3 separate regions of the Homo sapiens genome follow, and regions 1 and 2 are each linked to region 3. The links are contacts of gene promoters, found by promoter capture Hi-C in blood cells and fetal thymus (Javierre and others, 2016). All regions are on one chromosome and are shown on one strand. The core of a region is centred on a gene start or on the middle of the fragment in contact, and the rest is flanking DNA. Distances in the headings are between cores, read along the strand shown. Region 1 has its middle 150 kb from the start of SLC24A2. Region 2 has its middle 120 kb from the start of SLC24A2. Region 3 holds the start of IFNW1 (interferon omega 1).

Region 1 (3,937 bases), core at 143-2,642, 1.2 Mb after region 3:
GTGAGATAGCTGGTACAGAGAAGTGTTCAATCAGTTGAAGTGCTATTGTTAAAGCCTGGGGTGGAGAAAAACTTGGAAGCATGTGCTACTGCAAAACACACTGTGTGAGTTGGAGCATTTTATCTGAGTGTGCCAGGGATTTCTGGAGAAGGGATTTGGCAGAAGTCATGATTTTAGCATAGCCGTAATTCACTAGGGGCTGGCAGTTTATTTCTACCTACAGCATTATAGTCACGTGCTGCATGATGACATTTTGGTCAACAACAGACCACTTGTAGGACAGTGGGCCCCTAAGATTATAACGAAGCTGAAAAATTCCCATCCCCTAGTGATAGTATAGCTGTGGAAATGTCATAGTGCAATTACTTTATTTTTTACAAATTTAGTGTAGCCTAAGTTGACAGTATTTATAAAGTCTACCGTTGTTTACAGTAATGTCCTAGGCCTTCACATTCACTCACTACTCACTCACTGACTCACCCAGAGCACCTTCCAGTCCTGCAAGCTCCAGGCGTGGTAAGCGCCCTGTACAGCTGTGCCATTTTTTAATCTTCTCTGCCATATTTCTACTGTACCTTTTCTATGTTTAAATATGTTTAGAATCCAAATACTCATCATTGTGTTACAATTGCCTACAGTATTCCTACAGTAACATGCTGTACAGATTCATAGCCTAGGAGCAATAGGCTATATACCATATAGCCTAGGCGTGTAAGTAGCTATACCATCTAGGTTTGTATAAGTATACTCCATGATGTTCACACAATGATGAAATCACCTAAGGACACATTTCTCAAAACCTAACTGCTTTGTTCTCAGGTTTAGAGGGCCAAACACTTAGGTGGCACTATACTCATTCCAGAACACCAGGATATGCTTATATCCTCCATTCTGTTATGTACACTAGAATCCAGAAACAAGACTACTAGAAGAAGACAGATATCACCTACATATTTATCTGTGTGATCTGCCATAATAGTTACGGACATGAAAATAAAGTTAGTGGGACTAAACAACAGATACCTTATGAGTTTTTCCATTCTCCATTACCATTTGTTTATTGCCTATTTGTAAGATATTTTTAGTTTTGGGTTTTGTTGATTTCTTTGTTTTTTGTTTGTTTGTTTGTTTTGTTTTGTACATAGTCTCAAAAAGACAAGCTGTAGCGGATGCCAAAGTTTTAAGTAAAATGTGCGGAGCAAAATGTTAAAATGAGAAAATTCTATCTAGCAACTTTTTTTCTGGAAACTTGGAAAATATATACATTATTAAATTGTAGCAATAAAACATCTCAGTCATCTCAGTTTACAAAACACCAAGGATCCATGGAGCAATTAAAGAATCACTAGAGGGTTAACAACAGAGGAAGTCATATTTCCTAGTCATTGAAGTGTTAAAATAGGAAAAGAGACCTGGAGACTTATAGGTCTAGGTGAGTGTTAGTGTCTTACCTAACTAATAACATTAGAAATGTGAAGCAGAAGGAGACTATTCCAGAGTCCATAGTCAACTTTTTAATTTAAACATTTTAATAAACCATACCTCTATTAATCACCATGAAATTTCTCTTTCAAACTGAAAGGAAGTGTCACAGTATTGGGAAGACAAATGGTAGTTAAAACTATTGTCCATGTAAGTTAAATGGGGCTGTAAAAAATGTCTATCCAGTTTAGAATATCTTTCAGTTTTCTCAGACTTTTCTTTTGGGAAATAGTATATTAAAGAACCTATCAATTCAACCTTTAATATTGAGTTTCTATATCATGTTTTTTGAAATGAATGTCCAACAGTGGGCAACTGGCTAGATAACCTAAATATACACCAAAATGATGGGTTATACAGACTTTTAAAAAGATTTTCTGCAAGAATATCTAATGGTATGGGAAGACAGACACTGGTATTAAAGGAAATCACAGTCTATAAGAGTACTATAAAATATTATTTCATTTTTAATCTATACAGTATAGAAAAGACTCACTAATAGTTAATGCTATTAATAAATGCAATATTGTTATTTCTATTCTGTACTGTTTTTATACTGTTCTGTTTTCTTCTTTTCATGTATTTTCATTTTTAATAAACATATTGCTTTTGTAATAAGCAAACCACAATTGTTAGTGTAAAAGTTATATTTGACTTTCTGTGCAATATTATCTAATTGCTGAAGTACCAGAAATACAACATTTCACCTATAAGGCTGTCCCCAACCATATACATCCTGAAGACAGCATTAGAACACAGCTTTGCTATCCAGAGAGAAGCACAGGAAATGTGTATATGTAAATATAGTTGTGTTCATAATAGCACTTCGTTTGCATAGACACAAATATCATAAACAAAATATCTGTCTCTCAATTATTAGGATACATAGATATATTTCAACAGACAACATTGATTAGCTGTAATCCGGGTGTTCATTAGAAAGTATAGTTTTAAACTCATTTTCAGCTGATAATTTTCAATAGCTCAGTTGAGAGAAATTCTATTTGAAATTTTTAAAGTTAAAAGTAACAATTCTGCTAGTACAAAACTGCATGTATCTTTCAAGATATTCCAAAATCTATCCCTATATCAAGCAAGGAGCTGAGTTCTCATGGAATTATTTATCTAAGTTGCACTTGAGTGTGACACCAGCAATCTGGGTTGAGAATTCTAAGGGAAAAAACAAAACGTGAAAACCATTATTCTGTACATTTCAAAGACATTGTTGAGGATGTTAATCATCTCTCCATGCCTTCTTTAGGAAGACCCCTGGAAGAAATTTCATTCTGATATTTTAATAGCAAGGAGCAGCCAAAATTCTCCCAGTTGGTCTGTTTTCATCTTGTGGATATTATACATGGACTGACCAGGGGTCCCTCTATAATTGCTCTGGCACAGCTCAGAGCCAAATGTGTGGCCCAGCTGCAGCAAATGTGTGAATCAATGCGGTATGTGTTTTTAGGCCTAATTCTTGACTCAATTTTATGTTCCTACCATATTTTCCTTTCTCCTGACTTTTTGGTTTTTGCTTAAAAAAAATCCACTAAAGTAATACATATGTGTGGGAACATACGAGTGAGGACAGAAGAATTTAAGGTCTGAAAAGCAGCAGCCTCTACCTCTCTGCTCTCTGCCTCCACCCCATCCCACTCCCCAGATTCAACCTCTTTTAACTGTTTGTTTTTGGTTCTTTTAGCAATTACCTCCATAAATCTAGATAAGAGGCTTAACCTCTTTTTCCCCATTTATCATCTTGAGATAATATCTCTAGACACCTTAATATGAAAAGGGGAGGATTTAGCTCATTTAATGTAAGTTTCCTCCTCCACCTCCAAATGTTTTATATTTGCATTATTACTTTTAGTTCTTCTACAGTTCATACCATTGCAACTTTAAATAATATATAAACCTGTTAATCAGAGGCTCCCACTCCAGCTTTCTAATTGTTTGTACTATTGTAAGTTGTCTCATTTTACAAAGTGAAGAGGCTGAGCGCCTGTAATCCTAGCACTTTGGGAGGCTGAGGCAGGTGGATCGCTTGAGCACGCGAGTTTGAGAACAGCCTGGGCAACATGATGAATCCTCGTTTCTGCAAAAAATACAAAAATTAGCCAAGCATGGTGGTGTACACTTGTAGTCACAGCTACTCTGGAGGCTGAAGAAGGAGGATGGCTTGAGCCTGGGAGGTCAAGGCTGCAGTGAGCCCTGATCATGTCACCCTACTCCAGCCTGGGAACAGAAGGAGACTGTGTCTCAAATAATAATAATAGTAATAAATCGAAGATAACTAACAACACAAATTCAAGAAGAATGAGGTCAGCAAGTCTTCATGATGAATACGAAAGTAAATAGTTAAGGAGTCCCGAAAAATATAAAGGATGGTAATACAGGCTAAGTAGGCCTCTGGTATCACGGTGGGCTCTAAGGTTTATTATGGTGGCAGCCTCGTTTATGG
Region 2 (3,909 bases), core at 696-3,195, 1.2 Mb after region 3:
CACAATGAGATGCTACTTCATACCTACTAGAACTACTATCATCATCATAATAATAAGCCAAGAAAATAACTGTTGGTAAGGATATGGATAAATTGGAACCTTTAATATATTGCTGGTGGGAATATATTATTAAATGGTGCAGTGCTCTGGAAAAAGTTTGGCAATCCCTCAAAAGTTAAAGATTTGCCGTATGACCCTACAATTCTATACCTAGGTATATGCCCAAGAGAATTGAAAATATATGTTCACACAAAAGCTTGTACCGGAATGTTCATAGGGACATTATTCACAAGAGCCAAAAAGTGGAAACAACCCAAATGTCTATCAATTGATGAATGGATAAACAAAATGTGGTATATTCATGCAATGAAATATTATTAGGCAATAAAAAAGAACGAAGCGCTGATACATGCTACACCATATATGAGACTTGAAAACATTATGCTAAGGAAAGAAGCCAGACAAAAAAGGGTCACATATTATATAACTTCATTCATGTGAAATATCCAAAATAGGTAAATTCATAGTGACAAAAGTAGTTGCCAAGGGCAGGTAGAGGATGGGATTGGGAGGTATAGGGTTTCTTTTGGGAGTGATGGGAATATTCTGGAGTTACTTAATGGTAACAGTTGTACGACATTGTGAATATACTAAAAACTATTAGATTGCACACTTTAAAATGGCTAAAATGGTGACTTTTATATCAATCTTTTTTTTAAATTATTAAAATACATGTTTTAAAATAAAATACAAATCAAATGTGTGCAGAACTCCTGAAGCACCTCAGCTCAGATCTTTTATGTGGCCAGATTCTGGCTACAAAATCTGGATCCCATCCTGTCCACATGACACTGGGGAGGATACTTGCTGTCTTGAGCCCATTTTCTCATCTATGAAATGGGATGCCTTCTTGCCTCATCTGAGTCATTATATGGTTCAAACGAGATAACTTTGTTAACAACAAGGCAAGGTCATAAGGGATTATTATCGTAATCTCTTGTCACTCTCGGCTAGATTATGCCAGAGGGGTGAACAGAATGCCTTAAGAGAACATGTCCTCTGCCTGGCTCAGAATAGATGATATTTGAGCTGGTCTTAAAAGATGACTTTGCCAGGCCAAGACCTGAGGATAGCCTTTTTAGACAGAAGGAAATGTATATTATTAAAAATGAGCAAACTCAGAAAATGCTACATGTTTAGTGACTGGAAATCACTGGAATACAAGTTGTGGGAGAGAGCAATTGAGAGGAATTTGGACCAGATCAAGTAGGGTCTTTTGTATAAGGTGTATGGGTTTTATTTTCGTGATAATGGAAAGCCAGTGGACATGTTTAGGAGGCATGTGTCAAGATCCAGTATGGATCCTAGGAAGAGGTCTGATGACATCATGGAGGATGAGCTGTGTAGGGAGATATTCAACAGGTAGATCTGACAGGAGGTGGTTGAAACACTCAAGTGGCAGGTGTCAAGAATCTAACCCTGGACAAGATAAAAGTAAGGACAAAAAGTAAGATCTGAAAGGAAGCGCATTTTGAGGTAGAACCCAAAGTATTTGGTAACGGACTAGATATGTAGTGAAGCAGAGGAGGAACAAAGGGCAACTGTGAGGTTTCTGGTTTTGAAAACTGGGCATACTACCCAGTTAATCAAGATTGGGCATACCACCGCTGATCAAGATTGTAGGTTTTTTGGAGAAGGAGCTGGCATAGTGAGGAAGATGAGGTTGGTTTGGGATACAGTAAGAATTAAGTGCTTACCCAGGAAAACAAAAATTAAAAAAAGAAAAAAAAGAATTAAGTATGGATTGATGGAATGCAAGAAACACACTCAAGTAAATGCAAGGAAACAAGAATTTACTGTGAGAAGGCATTCAAATGTAGATTTGTGGAGTCATAGACCATGGTTTCCTTATTCAACAAAATTTCTCTTATACCTAGCAAAGTTCCTGGCATAAAGTAGGTTTTCAAATTGTATTTGATAAAGGATGGTTAATCTCATGAAATACAATGAAAGCAATAAAGCATAGGCTTGCTGGCACTGGAAAATTCTCAGGCAGCCACCTACTCCATCTCTATCTTTCTGAAATCACGATGTCCTTTGCTTTGCTTCCCTTTGCATGTCTGCCCTAATCTCTGGATTCTCCCTGTATACTGGCTTTCTCTGCTTATTTATCCTCAGGACACAATTCCAAGCCCTAAATCACCTTACAGATGGAGGTGATTGATTCCCACACAAGGGAATCTGACTGGACTAGCTTGGATGAGATATCCACTCTGGCCAAGTCAGCTATGGCCTGAGGGATGAAGTCAGAGTGATTTATGTGACTACTCTTTATGGGATGTGGGCACGTCTCTAAGAAGGGAATGTTGGCAAACAAAAAAATGACTGGTATCTCTGGTATAAGCCTGCAGCCAAACATTCAGGTGTAGATGAGAATATGGGGCCTATATTTTGGAAAAACTGGTCATAGATCTTGGAGTCATTAGCAAATAGATAGTGGTTGAATTCTTCAATTTAGATGAGACGACCTGGGAAGAGTATGTAAAATGATGTGAGAATGTAGAAGTGATAGAAACTGGGCTAAGAAAAATAGAGAAATAGCCAATGAATTAGAGAGGTAATTGTCAGAGAGATATAAAGAAAACCAGGAGACCTGAGTCATAGGCTTTGAAGAAGGAGAGAATATTAATAAATGGAGATCAGGTTCATTTAAATTTTTACAAATGATTTGTTGATAGTTTCACAAGCCTGTAAGTTGAGGGAAAAGTTGGATATAATGTTTCTGTATGTCAACCAGGCATTTGACATCTTTCATAACATCATTTTGGGACAAAATAGAGAAATAAGGGTTGGATTGAGTTCAAAAGGAAAAATTATCAATTAGGCAAATGAAGAATCCCAAAGGGATGCAGGTTGATGGGATAGTATCCACCACTGGAGGTTCTAATGTGAGCTGGGAGGTTCCAGTGTTGTTTTGTCTTTGTGAACATTTTATAAACGATGTGAAAACTAAGATGATTTATTTATCCAATTTGTGAATAGGACAAATCTGGGAGGAATAGCAAGAAATGTGTGACCAAGTGAGGGTCCCACGTGCATTCAGTAGAAAAAAGATAGAATTGTTTATGGTTAGATAGATGGAGGAAGGCCATCTGTTGTACTGTAGAGAGCAGAGAACCCATGTTCTAATCCTGACTGTGAGCCAATAACTTGACAAATTACTGAAACCGATGATTTCCAACCTATACCTGATTTAAATCCCTGCCAATGGGATAGGAACAGGGAATTCATACACTATTTGTAACCATTTTTCCAGGACATTCAAATGCTACCCATCACTATCCATGGGATAACATCTGAAGGCACTGACTTAAAATTTTAATAGGCTCAGTATCTGCATCTCTAAAATGATAGCTCACCAGGATGATCCCTAAGGTCTCCTTTCCAGCTCTGACATTTGTATCTGTGTTTGTGTAGGGGAAGCATGTGTCTCAGCAGAAGAGTTTGCCTAACATCTAACTGCTGGCCTCGGTCCCCACCCCGGGGGTTTGAATACCTCCACGACACTCCATTGTCAAGAATTCTCATTATCTGGTCATAGTGAAGCTATGCAGTGGCTTTAAAAGAAAGCTTAAAATATAAATATACATTTATATAAAATGATTGGGTGAGTAAACAAATAAAACCTTAGGTCTCAGACACTAAAAGGCTCAATGGCATGTAATGCTGATGGTCTGTTTCTCAAATGTATCCACATATGTTTGTTTAACCCCCAAGTTCACCCTTAAATGTCTGATTTTAGTGTAAATGGAAAGAGAACCCAGTGTGCTGAGATAAGATCTAGACAAGTGATAGCGATGGTGCATCATAGATGTGTCTCCCATAACCACAGGTCAAGTGGAGTTCCTA
Region 3 (4,016 bases), core at 992-3,491:
TCAGGACATAGGCAGGGGCAAGGACTTCATGTCTAAAACACCAAAAGCAATGGCAACAAAAGCCAAAATTGACAAATGGGATCTAATTAAACTAAAGAGCTTCTGCACAGCAAAAGAAACTACCATCAGAGTGAACAGGCAACCTACAGAATGGGAGAAAATTTTTGCAATCTACTCATATGACAAAGGGCTAATATCCAGAATCTACAATGAACTCAAACAAAGTTACAAGAAAAAAACAAACAACCCCATCAAAAAGTGGGCGAAGGATATGAACAGACACTTCTCAAAAGAAGACATTTATGCAGCCAAAAGACACATGAAAAAATGCTCATCATCACTGGCCATCAGAGAAATGCAAATCAAAACCACAATGAGATACCATCTCACACCAGTTAGAATGGCGATCATCAACAAGTCAGGAAACAACAGGTGCTGGAGAGGATGTGGAGAAACAGGAACACTTTTACACTGTTGGTGGGACTGTAAACTAGTTCGACCATTGTGGAAGTCAGCGTGGCGATTCCTCAGGGATCTAGAACTAGAAATACCATTTGACCCAGCCATCCCATTACTGGGTATATACCCAAAGGATTACAAATCATGCTGCTATAAAGACACATGCACACGTATGTTTATTGCGGGACTATTCACAATAGCAAAGACTTGGAACCAACCCAAATGTCCAACAACGATAGACTGGATCTAGAAAATTTGGCACATATAAGCTTCTAATGAAAGACAACATCATCATTGATCCCCTGTGCCCACCTGAGAAACACTGAGGATAACAAATGTTCAATAGCTTACGTAAAAGAATTGAACAATAAAAACCGTGTCAGGATTCCGAGCTGGGATACTGACACAGCCAGTGGAGCACTATTGACCTCAGTAAGCAAATGGTGGAAAATTATTTGACTAATGAAGGTAAAATGATTATAATTGGGTAATCCTTCCACCTTCCTTAGACAAAAGAAACCTTTGCTATCAGTACCTGAGGGCTGTCGAAACTTTTGATACCTGGACACATGGGTCAGGAGGAAAGGAGGTCGCCACTGAGAGCCAGGGTCCTCCAGACAAACACTCTAGGGGCACCGGCAAGGGTCTTGGAGGGTTAGTTGCTTTGCTCACAAAGTAACCACTACCCTCTCACCAAAAGAGTTCTGAAGTTATCAGGATGTTGTGAGACTGCTCCCTGGGAGCGAGTCTGGAAGAGTTTGGGTTGAGAGTATTTGTTACTCTAGAGGAAAAGGTATTACTAGATGTGATAACTACCTTGTGTGTGAGGAGACGCTGGGAAAGTAAAATATCTGCGAATTAGAATCTCTACATCCATATGCGCTTGTAAAGAATCAGGATTCCAGCTGGGATATTGACAGATAGGGGAGCACTATTGACCTCAGTAAGCAAATGATGGAAAGAAAAAGCAGTGTCTATATTAATCTTCACCTTGTGGTCCCAGTGAAGCGTAACCACATGGACCTGCATGAATGTTTTCTAGAAGGAAGAAAAATGTCAGAGAAGCTCATTCGCTAATCATCATCATCCTCTGTTGTGAATAAAACAGCAAACAAAACTGCGTTTTTGGCTCATATCTGTAATTCCAACTACTTGGGAGGCTGAGGCAGGAGGCCTCAGCTTCAGGCCAGGAGTTTGAGACCAGCCTGAACAACATAGTGGGACCTCATCTCTAACAACAACAACAACAAAAAAATTAGCCAGGCATGATGGTGCACACCTGTTGTCCCAGGTACTCAGGGGGCTGAGGCACAGAGATTGCTTGAGCCCAGGAGTTAAAGGCTGCAGTGACCTCTGATCATGCCACCACACTCCAACCTGGGTGACGGATTAAGACCCCATCTCTAAAAAACAAACAAACAACAGCAAAATGCTGTTCTTGGTTCTAAAGAGCTTATTTGCTGCAGATGATCTGGTAAACCTGAAGCAAATATAGAAACCTATAGGGCCTGACTTCCTACATAAAGTAAGGAGGGTAAAAATGGAGGCTAGAATAAGGGTTAAAATTTTGCTTCTAGAACAGAGAAAATGATTTTTTTCATATATATATGAATATATATTATATATACACATATATACATATATTCACTATAGTGTGTATACATAAATATATAATATATATATTGTTAGTGTAGTGTGTGTCTGATTATTTACATGCATATAGTATATACACTTATGACTTTAGTACCCAGACGTTTTTCATTTGATTAAGCATTCATTTGTATTGACACAGCTGAAGTTTACTGGAGTTTAGCTGAAGTCTAATGCAAAATTAATAGATTGTTGTCATCCTCTTAAGGTCATAGGGAGAACACACAAATGAAAACAGTAAAAGAAACTGAAAGTACAGAGAAATGTTCAGAAAATGAAAACCATGTGTTTCCTATTAAAAGCCATGCATACAAGCAATGTCTTCAGAAAACCTAGGGTCCAAGGTTAAGCCATATCCCAGCTCAGTAAAGCCAGGAGCATCCTCATTTCCCAATGGCCCTCCTGTTCCCTCTACTGGCAGCCCTAGTGATGACCAGCTATAGCCCTGTTGGATCTCTGGGCTGTGATCTGCCTCAGAACCATGGCCTACTTAGCAGGAACACCTTGGTGCTTCTGCACCAAATGAGGAGAATCTCCCCTTTCTTGTGTCTCAAGGACAGAAGAGACTTCAGGTTCCCCCAGGAGATGGTAAAAGGGAGCCAGTTGCAGAAGGCCCATGTCATGTCTGTCCTCCATGAGATGCTGCAGCAGATCTTCAGCCTCTTCCACACAGAGCGCTCCTCTGCTGCCTGGAACATGACCCTCCTAGACCAACTCCACACTGGACTTCATCAGCAACTGCAACACCTGGAGACCTGCTTGCTGCAGGTAGTGGGAGAAGGAGAATCTGCTGGGGCAATTAGCAGCCCTGCACTGACCTTGAGGAGGTACTTCCAGGGAATCCGTGTCTACCTGAAAGAGAAGAAATACAGCGACTGTGCCTGGGAAGTTGTCAGAATGGAAATCATGAAATCCTTGTTCTTATCAACAAACATGCAAGAAAGACTGAGAAGTAAAGATAGAGACCTGGGCTCATCTTGAAATGATTCTCATTGATTAATTTGCCATATAACACTTGCACATGTGACTCTGGTCAATTCAAAAGACTCTTATTTCGGCTTTAATCACAGAATTGACTGAATTAGTTCTGCAAATACTTTGTCGGTATATTAAGCCAGTATATGTTAAAAAGACTTAGGTTCAGGGGCATCAGTCCCTAAGATGTTATTTATTTTTACTCATTTATTTATTCTTACATTTTATCATATTTATACTATTTATATTCTTATATAACAAATGTTTGCCTTTACATTGTATTAAGATAACAAAACATGTTCAGCTTTCCATTTGGTTAAATATTGTATTTTGTTATTTATTAAATTATTTTCAAACAAAACTTCTTGAAGTTATTTATTCGAAAACCAAAATCCAAACACTAGTTTTCTGAACCAAATCAAGGAATGGACGGTAATATACACTTACCTATTCATTCATTCCATTTACATAATATGTATAAAGTGAGTATCAAAGTGGCATATTTTGGAATTGATGTCAAGCAATGCAGGTGTACTCATTGCATGACTGTATCAAAATATCTCATGTAACCAATAAATATATACACTTACTATGTACCCACAAAAATTAAAAAGTTATTTTAAAAAAGAAATACAGGTGAATAAACACAGTTTCTTTCCGTGTTGAAGAGCTTTCATTCTTACAGGAAAAGAAACAGTAAAGATGTACCAATTTCGCTTATATGAAACACTACAAAGATAAGTAAAAGAAAATGATGTTCTCATACTAGAAGCTTTAGGTGCAAATGATGTTGAGAAAGAAAAATATTAGATGTCCTTTTTGAGGTGCCTGGGAGACATGAAATTGCAGAAATCTTATGCGCAATTGGGAATATGGGTCTAGAGTGAACAACAAATCCCATGGGCAAAGGTATTAATTTAAGATTCTTTATT

The links. Contacts are between HindIII fragments. The CHiCAGO score rates a contact against its expected background, and 5 or more counts as called.
Region 1: a contact is called between a fragment that was not itself captured here and the fragment with the promoter of IFNW1 in region 3, in 1 of 17 cell types (naive CD4 T cells). The highest score is 5.3, in naive CD4 T cells.
Region 2: a fragment that was not itself captured here is called in contact with the fragment with the promoter of IFNW1 in region 3 in 6 of 17 cell types (activated CD4 T cells, total CD4 T cells, naive CD4 T cells and 3 more); the score reaches 10.6 in activated CD4 T cells.

The regions. Positions count from the first base shown.
Region 1 is chr9:19,936,093-19,940,029 of GRCh38, reverse strand. It overlaps a transcript of SLC24A2 not described here. Among named protein-coding and RNA genes, the nearest start is that of SLC24A2, 150 kb to the right of the region's middle. The HindIII fragment of the contact is 5,442 bases long and covers 1-3,937 here.
Region 2 is chr9:19,911,753-19,915,661 of GRCh38, reverse strand. It overlaps a transcript of SLC24A2 not described here. Among named protein-coding and RNA genes, the nearest start is that of SLC24A2, 120 kb to the right of the region's middle. The HindIII fragment of the contact is 3,374 bases long and covers 259-3,632 here.
Region 3 is chr9:21,140,057-21,144,072 of GRCh38, reverse strand. IFNW1 (interferon omega 1) reads left to right here and starts at 2,241. Exons shown (of 1, transcript NM_002177.3): 1 at 2,241-3,441. The coding sequence starts at 2,503. The coding sequence ends at 3,090. RefSeq lists enhancers at 2,287-2,336, 2,427-2,566. The HindIII fragment of the contact is 3,128 bases long and covers 731-3,858 here.